2 separate regions of the Homo sapiens genome follow, and region 1 is linked to region 2. Evidence: promoter capture Hi-C in 16 types of primary human blood cells and fetal thymus (Javierre and others, 2016). All regions are on one chromosome and are shown on one strand. The core of a region is centred on a gene start or on the middle of the fragment in contact, and the rest is flanking DNA. Distances in the headings are between cores, read along the strand shown.

Region 1 (4,447 bases), core at 531-3,030, 130 kb after region 2:
TTCCCTTTCTGAAAACCCCACTCAATCCTGATACTTCCTCCCCTACTACCCTCCCAGCTTCTGATCCCCATCCTCAACCTATAAAAACTTGTCCCTGTAGGGTTAGACCCACTAACAATCCTGAGGTTCCTTAGATTGTCTATGCCCTTGGAATAAGGCTGAAATCCATGTTAAAGCCAAGGAATTTCCTAAAGTTACCCAGGACCCTCTTTGCTTTGCTGATGAATTTAACATTACAATTGAAGCTTACTAGCCCAGCTTCTCTGATCTTAATCAACTTGTCCACATGCTTGTGGGAGAAAGCCAGGCTAATCACTGGATGAAAAAGGTCAGTTGTGGCTGGGTATGGTGGCTCACGCCTGTAATCCCCACAATTTGGGAGGCTGAGGTGGGCAGATTACCTGAGGTCAGGAGATCGAGACCAGCCTGGCCAACAGGGCGAAACTCCGTCTCTACTAAAAATACAAAAATTAGCCAGGCCTGGTGGCACACATCTATAATCTCAGCTACTCAGGAAGCTGAGGGAGAGTCATTTGAACCCAGGAGGCGGAGGTTGCAGTGAGCCGAGGTCACTCCATTGCACTCCAGCCTGGGTGATAAAGTGAGACCCTGCCTTAAAAAAAAAAAAAAAAAAAGGAAAGAAAGAAGAAAAAGGTCAATTGCACACACCCTGTATTAGTCTGTTTTCATGCTGCTGATAAAGACATACCCAAGAAGGGGCAATTTACAAAAGAAAGAGGTTTAATTGGCCTTTGGCCTTACAGTTCCACATGGCTGGGGAAGCCTCACAATCATGGTGGAAGGCAAGGAGGAGCAAGACCCATCTTACATGGATGGCAGCAGGCAAAGAGAATGAGGAAGATGCAAAAGTGGAAACCCCTGATAAAACCATCAGATCTTGTGAGACTTATTCTCTACCACAAGAACAGTATGGGGGAAACCATCCCCGTGATTCAATTGTCTCCCACTGGGTCCCTCCACAACATGTGGGAATTATGGAAGTATAATTCAAGATGAGATTTGGGTGGGGACACAGAGCCAAATTATATCATTTTGCCCCTGGCCCTTGTCAAATCTCATATCCTCACATTTCAAAACCAATCATGCCTTCCCAGGAGTCCCCCAAAGTCTTAACTCATTTCATCTTTAACTCAAAAGGCCATGGTCCAAAGTCTCATCTGAGACAATGCAAGTCCCTTCTGCCTATGAGCCTGTAAAATCAAAAGCAAGTTAGTTATTTCCTAGAAACAATGGGAATACAGACATTGGGTAAATACACCTATTCCAAATAGGAGAAATTGGCCAAAACAAAAGGACTACAGGGCCCATGCAAGTTTGAAATCCAGTGGGGCAGTCAAATCTTAAAGCTCCAGAATGATCTCCTTTGACTCCATGTCTCATATCCAGGTCATGCTGATGCAAGAGGTAGGTTCCCATGGTCTTGGGCAGCTCCACCCCTGTGGCTTTGCAGATTACAACCTCCCTCCCGGCTACTTTCATGGGCTGGTGTTGAGTGTCTGCGGCTTTTCCAGGTGCATGGTGCAAGTTGTCGGTAGATCTACAATTCTAGGATCTGGAGGACAGTGGCCCTCCTCTCACAGCTCCACTAAGCAATGCCCTAAGCAGTGCCCCAGTAGGTGTAGGGGCTCCAACCCCACCTTTCCCTTCTGCATTGCCCTAGCAGAGGTTCTCCATGAGACCCCTGCCCCTGCAGCAAACTTCTGCCTGGGCTTCCAGGCATTTCCATACATATTCTGAAATCTAGGTAAAGGTTCCCAAACCTCAATTCTTGACTTCTGTGCACCCTCAGGCTCAACACCACATGGAAGCTGCCAAGACTTGGGGTTGGCCATCTGAAGCCATGGCCTGAGCTCTATGTTGGCCCTTTCAGCCATGGCTGGAGTGGCTGGGATGCAGGGCACCAAGTCCCTAGGTTGCACACAGCTTGGGGACCCTGGACCCAGCCCATGAAACCACTTTATCCTCCTAGGCCTCCAAGCCTGTGATGAGAGTGGCTGCCATGAAGACCTCTGACATGCCCTGGAGACATTTTCTCCATTGTCTTGGGAATTAACATTTGGCTCCTGGTTACTTAGGCAAATTTCTGTCGTTGGCTTGAATTTCTTTTCAGAAAATGGTATTTTCTTTCCTATTGCATTGTCAGGCTGCAAATTTTTCAAACTTTTATGCTCTGTTTCTCCTTTAAAACTGAATGCCTTTAACAGCACCCAAGTCACATCTTGAATGCTTTGCTGCTTAGAAGTTTCTTCCACCAGACACCCTAAATCATCTCTCTCAAGTTCAAAGTTCCACAAATCTCTAAGGCAGGGGCAAAATGCCACCAGTGTCTTTGCTAAAATATAACAAGAATCACCTTTACTCCAGTTCCCAACAAGTTCCTCACCTCCATCTGAGACCACCTGAATCTGGATCTTATTGTCCATATTGCTATCAGCATTTTGGGAAAAGCCATTCAACAAGTATCCAGGAAGTTCCCAACTTTTCCACATTTTCCTGTCTTCTGAGCCCTCCAAACTGTTCCAATCTCTGCCTGTTACCCAGTTCCAAAGTTGCTTCCACATTTTCAGGTATCTTCTCAGCAGTATCTCACCCTGGTACCAATTTACTATATTAGTCCATTTTCATGCTTCTGATAAAGACATACCCAAGAAGGGACAATTTACAAAAGAAAGAGGTTTAATTGGGCTTACAGTTCCACATGGCTGGGGAAGCCTCACAATCATGGTGGAGGGCAAGGAGGAGCAAGTCCCATCTTACATGGATGGCTGCAGGAAAAGAGAGAATGAGGAAGATGCAAAAGCAGAAACCCCTGATAAAACCATCAGATCTTATGAGACTTATTCACTACCACAAGAACAGTACGGGGGAAACTTCCCCCACGATTTAATTATCTCCCACCAGCTCCCTCCCACAACACATGGGAATTATGGGACTACAATTCAAGATGAGATTTGGGTGGGGACACAGAGCCAAACCATATCACACCCCTAACAGAATTTAGAAAGACCCCTCCTCATCTCCCTATAAACTAGCTTATAATATTGGGAGCAGGAACGGTAACTTGCAAAAAGTTTATATAGGGCCATCCCCAAAGCATTCCGTAAAGCCATTGACTAGAATAAAATTCAAGCATGTACCCAAGAACCAAACGAACCAGTTCATAACTATTATAACAGACTCCAGATTGTATTTAAAGAGAATTCTGGCCTTCCCATGGACATTGACTCTACTAGAGTTGCCTTTAACTTTATGTTTGTTAATGGTCTCTCCTAACAATTTACTCAGTTAGTAAAAAAAGCTTGCAGGGAATGAAAACCCATGCCAATCCTTTACCTTGTTAATTTGGCAAATCAATTAGATAGCACCCTAGAGGATACCAATAAAAAGAAGACTACAAAAATCCCAAACCTCCAATTACAACAAATGAAAGGTCCCAGAGAAAACAATTAGGGCTCTGAATGGCACCACTCCTCTAATTCATGAAACTCACCTCCTGGCATCCGTCATTATTGTAAACAACCTGGCCACAGCAAGAAAAACTGTTATAAATTTAACCAATCTAAATAGTCTTCTTCATTTAGCCCTTTGACTCCTGCCTCCTAATGAAAGGGATCCAAAAATATACAGGGGCTTTTTCCAATTCTTCCCCTCAACCTCCTTGGCAATGAGGTCCTACCTGTTCTCATTGACACAGAAGCAACCCTATCAGTACTCAATCCCACCAACCTAAGCCAGGCCTTGCCTTGGAGTTATAAAATTATTCAAATAGTAGGAGTTTCTAATAAACCACTGATGGCATTTCAAGCTCAGCCCATTGCTTTTTGCCTTGGGTTTTTACAAGATACCTATCCTTTTTTACTAGCAGAATCTGCTCCAGCTAACTTATTGGGATGAGATTTAAAAAAAATATATGTCATGTTGGCATCTCTTTATCCCTAAAGGGGGAAATAATTTTGGAGTCTGATAAGCCCAATAGCCTGTTGAACTCTACCAATAATCTCCCACTCATTTGTTATGTTGTCCCATGTACTAAAGAACTCTCCACTGAGTCTCAGAGTTCCCTATTGGAACAGAAAACTGTCTCTTTATCAGCCACATCATCAACAGATGTTGGTAGAATTCATAATGCACCCTCAATCAAAATCCAAATTGATTCAACCAAGCCTTTGCCTAGTATTAAACAATATTCCTTAACCAAACTGCCTTAGACCCAATATTGAAGAATACAAAACTCAAGGCCTAATAATTCCCTGTATCAGCCCCTAATACTTCCACCCTCCCAGTAAGAAAACCTAATTGTTGAGGATGGAGAGTTGTTCAGGATCTCCATGCCATAAATAATATTGTTATACCCTGTCACCTCATGGTCCAAAATATACATACTTCTGTTCCCAAATCCACATACTGCTGACTTCTATACCTACTG
Region 2 (4,880 bases), core at 1,810-4,309:
TGTTTCTCTTGGTTCTGAAACAATGTAAAATAGCTCTGGACAGAAAATTTTAAATGACCACCATCGCAGTCAAGTAATCTGTGGGCCCCCAACTCCTCTTCTCTTCCCTCTACCTCTCTCTCACACCTCTGATATTCTAGGCAGTACTTTATGTGAGAAGTTTTTAAGACAAGGACCCTTAATAGTCGGGTCTTTGCAGACTGGCAAATCATGCTGGAGCCCAAACTTCTTTGTTTTTGGGAAACTGGGAAGTATGCTGCTCACTAGAAAACAGATCTTTTGTTTTCTGACTTAAAAAAAAAAATCAGAACCATCCTGCCAGCAGGGACAAGCCTCACCCTTCTTGACAGTCCCAAAAGTTCAGCACTCTTAAGATCACCTGAGCAGGAACAAAAGCCTCTAGAAGTCAAATTATTACTTTCAGGACATATATGTAATACCTATGTGGCAGATTAAAAATAACTAAAAACATAATTTTGTGTTAAATCTGATACCACTTAAAGTCAGATGCCAATGTTGAAAAAAGATCTCAGCATCCAAAGCAGAACAAATAAGATTAATGTATTAAGAGGAACTTAAGAAGGTTAAGAAGATGAATGTCATTAAGAGGAATTGTCCTCAACTACTCTCCCGCCTTCAGATTGGAAAGAAGATCACCATTGTTCAATTTTAGAAGCAGGACACTTTCGCTGAGCTGTATCATGAAAACATAGTTTGGGACTAGACTCCGAGGCCAGTATCGGCACATCACAAAATGTAAATGAGCATCTAATATTCATGGAAGAGACCATTATGAATCGGCTGTATGGTTTTGTTAAAATAACACTGTCCCTTCCACGCTTCCTTGAAGGCCTGGGTTCTTGAGTTAACTTGGTTGCTAACTTGCTGTGTGATGATAGGCAGGTCCTTTAACCTCTTTGGACCACAGTCTTCTAATCTTTAAAATCTTCTGAAAACACCCTGAAGGTTCCTTCCAGCTTATAGGATAATAGAAGGGAGCAGCTCAGAGAACCCCATGTCCTTTCTCTTAACCCTGTAGCAGTTGACTCAGTTAAGTTCCTGAAAGTTGCTTACCTGAACAGAAGTGAGAAAGACCAGCCAGCACCAAGAGCTGAAAGAAATTGAGGTATGGACACTTGGATGGTGATGTTCCCTGCCTCCGTGTGTGGCCCATGGCTTCAGATGCTTAGGGTCAAAAGTGAAAGCCAACAATTTGGACCCAAGTAAGACCAGGGCACTTCCCAGGTGCAAAACAGGCAGGGCTGATGACAATCCAATTGCTCACGTAGAAGACCCTCCAGTGATGTTTACAAAACACACAGAGATTGGAGGGTGTTCCTGGGTCTCCAAAGGTTGTGGATTTAGTTTCACAGCCTGAAAAAGGAACAAATAAAAGTCATTCAGGAAGGAAGGTGTGCCTACTTTGAGTTGCAAAACTCTCGAGTTGCCTGCTAAAATTAATTGGAGAGCTTAACCTAAGCAACCTCTAAAGCAGGGCGTGACCCTGAGGAAAAGCGAATGGAAATTCTGTGAGGGGACCAGTTCCAAGAACCAACCACAGCCCTTCCATGAAAAGGCTTTCTACTTAATAGGTGGGGTGAAGATTTGGTTAGAAACAGGAGAGCTCTAAGGACCCTCCATATCTGTTAGCCAACCTGCAAAAGTTCAAATCCTCTTCTGAACATACCAAGAAACATAGAGCAGACAGTAAGGGTGTATTTTGTCCAAGGCAGGACCTAAGTTATGAAACAACTTCTTTCTTGACATATTAACATAAGAAAACAAGTATCTCAATTCTTTAAACCCTCTACTCAAATAATATATCATAAAGGGGTATGAGATCTCAATAACCAGAAAAGTCTATCCATAAAAAGGGAGGGAAAAAAAGACACTGCAGACGTTACTTATCAAAATTATGTACTCCAGGGCCAGGCGTGGTGGCTCACGCCTGTAATCCCAGCACTTTGGGAGGCTGAGGTGGGCGGATTACTTGAGGCCAGGAGTTCCAGACCAGCCTGGCCAACATGGCAAAACCCCATTTCTACCAAAAATACAAAAATTAGCCAGGTGTGGTGGTGGGTGCCTGTAATCCCAGCCACTTGGGAGGCTGAGGCACGAGAATTGCTTGAATCCAGGAGGTGGAGGCTGCAGTGAGCCAAGATGATTGCAACACTGCACTCCAGCCTAGGCGACAGAGTGAGACTCCATCTCAAAAAAAAAAAAAAAAAAAATTATGTACTGTCATGTGAGGTGGCTAGGGATTAATTTTTCCAGTAAATATGTCAAAATTGAGAAATGAAAATAAACACTGTGCTCCACTGTCACCCCTTCAGGCTGCTACCAGGACACAGCCCCGTGCTGCTCAGAGAATGCTTGAGTGTCCTCTTTGGAGACCACCCTAGAGCTAGAGTTCCAGCCACGCCATATTGTTTTATTAGCCATCATCCATTTTAGACAGGATTAGTTAAAAGAGACTTATTCACCAGAATTTGTTTTTCTTAAGATAGAATCTTGCTCTGTCACACAGGCTAGAGTGCAGTGGCGTGACCATAGCTCACCACAGTCTCAACCTCCCGAGCTCAAGCGATTTTCCCACTTTCACTAGAATTTTACTGGCTTGAGAAATTCAAATACGGCCCACAAAAACAATATTTGCTAGGATCTAGGATATTTTAAAATAATGGGCCACAATTCTCACTATGATGCTCCAAATATGTCGGGAAGCCACAGCCTCCTGTGGGAATGAGACCCTAAGGGTTCCTTTGAGGGCAAGCCTGGATCCAGGAGGTGGTAGCAGAGGTATTGTTTGTTTAAAAAGCAGTGAGGTTGCTGGTAACTAGTTCTACCAAGCTATCCCATAGTAAGATAATAGTAAATGTACTTACTTGCTGAAGAAAAATTCCACTTTTTCTTTAAATCCTTTGATTTCAGGGTAAGACTCCACTTCTGAGATGTTCTCTTCTTACAGTCTATAAAGCAATGACAAATCACTTTTTCTTTGGGTAATCTTCAGAGAGGCGACATTTCCCCTTCTAACTTCTGTTACTTTACAGAGGGTTTGAGTTCACTCAGTACTTGTCAGTGCCAGGAGTTGGACAGGGTGTTTGAAGAAGCGCCCTCTGCTGCCGTCTTCTTCTAGTTGCTTTTGTAGAGGCTGTGGCTGGGGCAAATCACACAGCAGCCTCCCTCACCACCGTGCATGGACTAACAAACATGAAACACCACGAGCACCAGGCGGCCTAGGGGAGGAGAAGAATGGTGCCCGAGAAGAGTGAGGGGCATCTGGCTAGCCTTGCTGTGTGATGGGAGGCCAGCTTCATGGGCTGGCTGTTTCTGTGCTGGTCTCAAGTTTTGTTTTAGCACCCAGAGTTACTCCTGAGTCCCTGCAGGAATAAGCTGTCAACCTCATATGTAGGGGACACTTTTGGGAGAGTGCTCAGCTCACAGGACCACCCAACTCTACTCCCACCTCTGAATCCCACCATCTTCAGAGAGTGGGCTCCTGCCAGCCACGCTGGACAGTGAATTCTGGTCACCCTAGCCACAGTTGAGTGCGCCTCTGGTGGGATGAGGAAGACTTTAGTCATGCCCATCACTCCCATTTCCAACTAGGTTGCCACCCACCCCTGTGTGTCCCTTTGTAGGATTCTGGAGCCCCTGTGAGTGAGCAGCTGACCCATGCTGGACCAGTGTACTTGTTTGCACAGGTGGAACCTGACAGCACCTTGCATGGGTTGCAGTGAGCCGAGATCACAACACTACAATCCAGCTTGGGTAACAGAGCAAGACTCCATCTCAAAAAAAAAAAAAAAAAAAAGACGCCATCCTTCCCACACCAGCCAGAAAGAGAGCAAACCGTGTGGGTGAGAAATACTGACTACAGCGGCGGCTTCCTTCATCTCAGCAACAAGTTTGTGGCAGAGCTTAGTGGATACCACCCTATTCACCTGAGATTTGGAATACTGAAGCTTTGGAAATCATGAAGGCAGAACTTGCTATGAAAGGACTCCACTGCACTGTCTCCTTCTGTATTGGCAGAAGGGGCCTAGTGAGCACCCTTCTTCACCTGTGTCTTGTTCTGGTCTCAGATGCATATTTTGAATAGTTGCAAGGAATATGGATGTGACAATTCCTGCCTTACCTCTAGTAGATCAACATTACATTTTCAAGTAAAGGGAACATAGATTGGAGGTAAGTTCATGTTTTCTATTTTCTTGAACATTTATTCAGATCAAAGAAATGTTTTCACTGATTTTAGCCACTTCTACTTGATACATTATTACAATGCACTGGAAGTGATTTTTTTTCCAGGTATTTAAAGTAATAGAAAGTTATAGATGTCAACTTAAAAGAGCAAAGAAATACAGAGTTTTAGAAATTTATTTTCTTTTTTTTTTTTTAGATGAAGTCTTTCTCTGCCGCCCAGGCTGGAGTGCAGTGGTGCAATCTTGGCTCACTGCAACCTCCGCCTCCTGGGTTCAAGCAATTCTTCTGCCTCAGCCTCCTGAGTAGCTGGGACTACAGGCGTGTGCCACCATGCCAGGCTAATTTTTAAATTTTTAGTAGAGATGGGGTTTCACCATATTGGCCAGGCTGGTCTCAAACTCCTGACCTTGTGATCCACCCTCCTCGGCCTCCCAAAGTGCTGGGATTACAGGCATGAGCCACTGCACCCAGCCGAGTTTTAGAAATTTCATGAGGGACTACATGAATACAAATTTTGACGATCACAGACACCCTCAAATTTTAAGAATCCCAGTGAAATCCTAACCTGCCTTGGAGAAACACACATTAAACAACTTTGCCATTAGCGCTTTGATGTGACTTAATCAAAGAGGCTGGAAGAAAGGAACACCAGGAAGGTACTTTACAGAGTTTCC

What was found. Contacts are between HindIII fragments. The CHiCAGO score rates a contact against its expected background, and 5 or more counts as called.
Region 1: a contact is called between a fragment that was not itself captured here and the fragment with the promoter of CD80 in region 2, in 1 of 17 cell types (monocytes). The highest score is 5.3, in monocytes.

What each region holds. Positions count from the first base shown.
Region 1 is chr3:119,685,072-119,689,518 of GRCh38, forward strand. No RefSeq gene overlaps it. Among named protein-coding and RNA genes, the nearest start is that of COX17, 9.9 kb to the left of the region's middle. The HindIII fragment of the contact is 3,074 bases long and covers 244-3,317 here.
Region 2 is chr3:119,556,555-119,561,434 of GRCh38, forward strand. It overlaps CD80 (CD80 molecule), which reads right to left and starts at 3,060. Exons shown (of 7, transcript NM_005191.4): 1 at 2,886-3,060; 2 at 1,075-1,374. The coding sequence starts at 1,174. It overlaps LOC107986118 (a long non-coding RNA gene), which reads left to right and starts at 3,876. Exons shown (of 2, transcript XR_001740861.2): 1 at 3,876-4,191. RefSeq lists a silencer at 1,368-1,662 and enhancers at 1,368-1,662, 2,024-2,183, 2,454-2,513, 3,284-3,333. The HindIII fragment of the contact is 26,007 bases long and covers 1-3,966 here.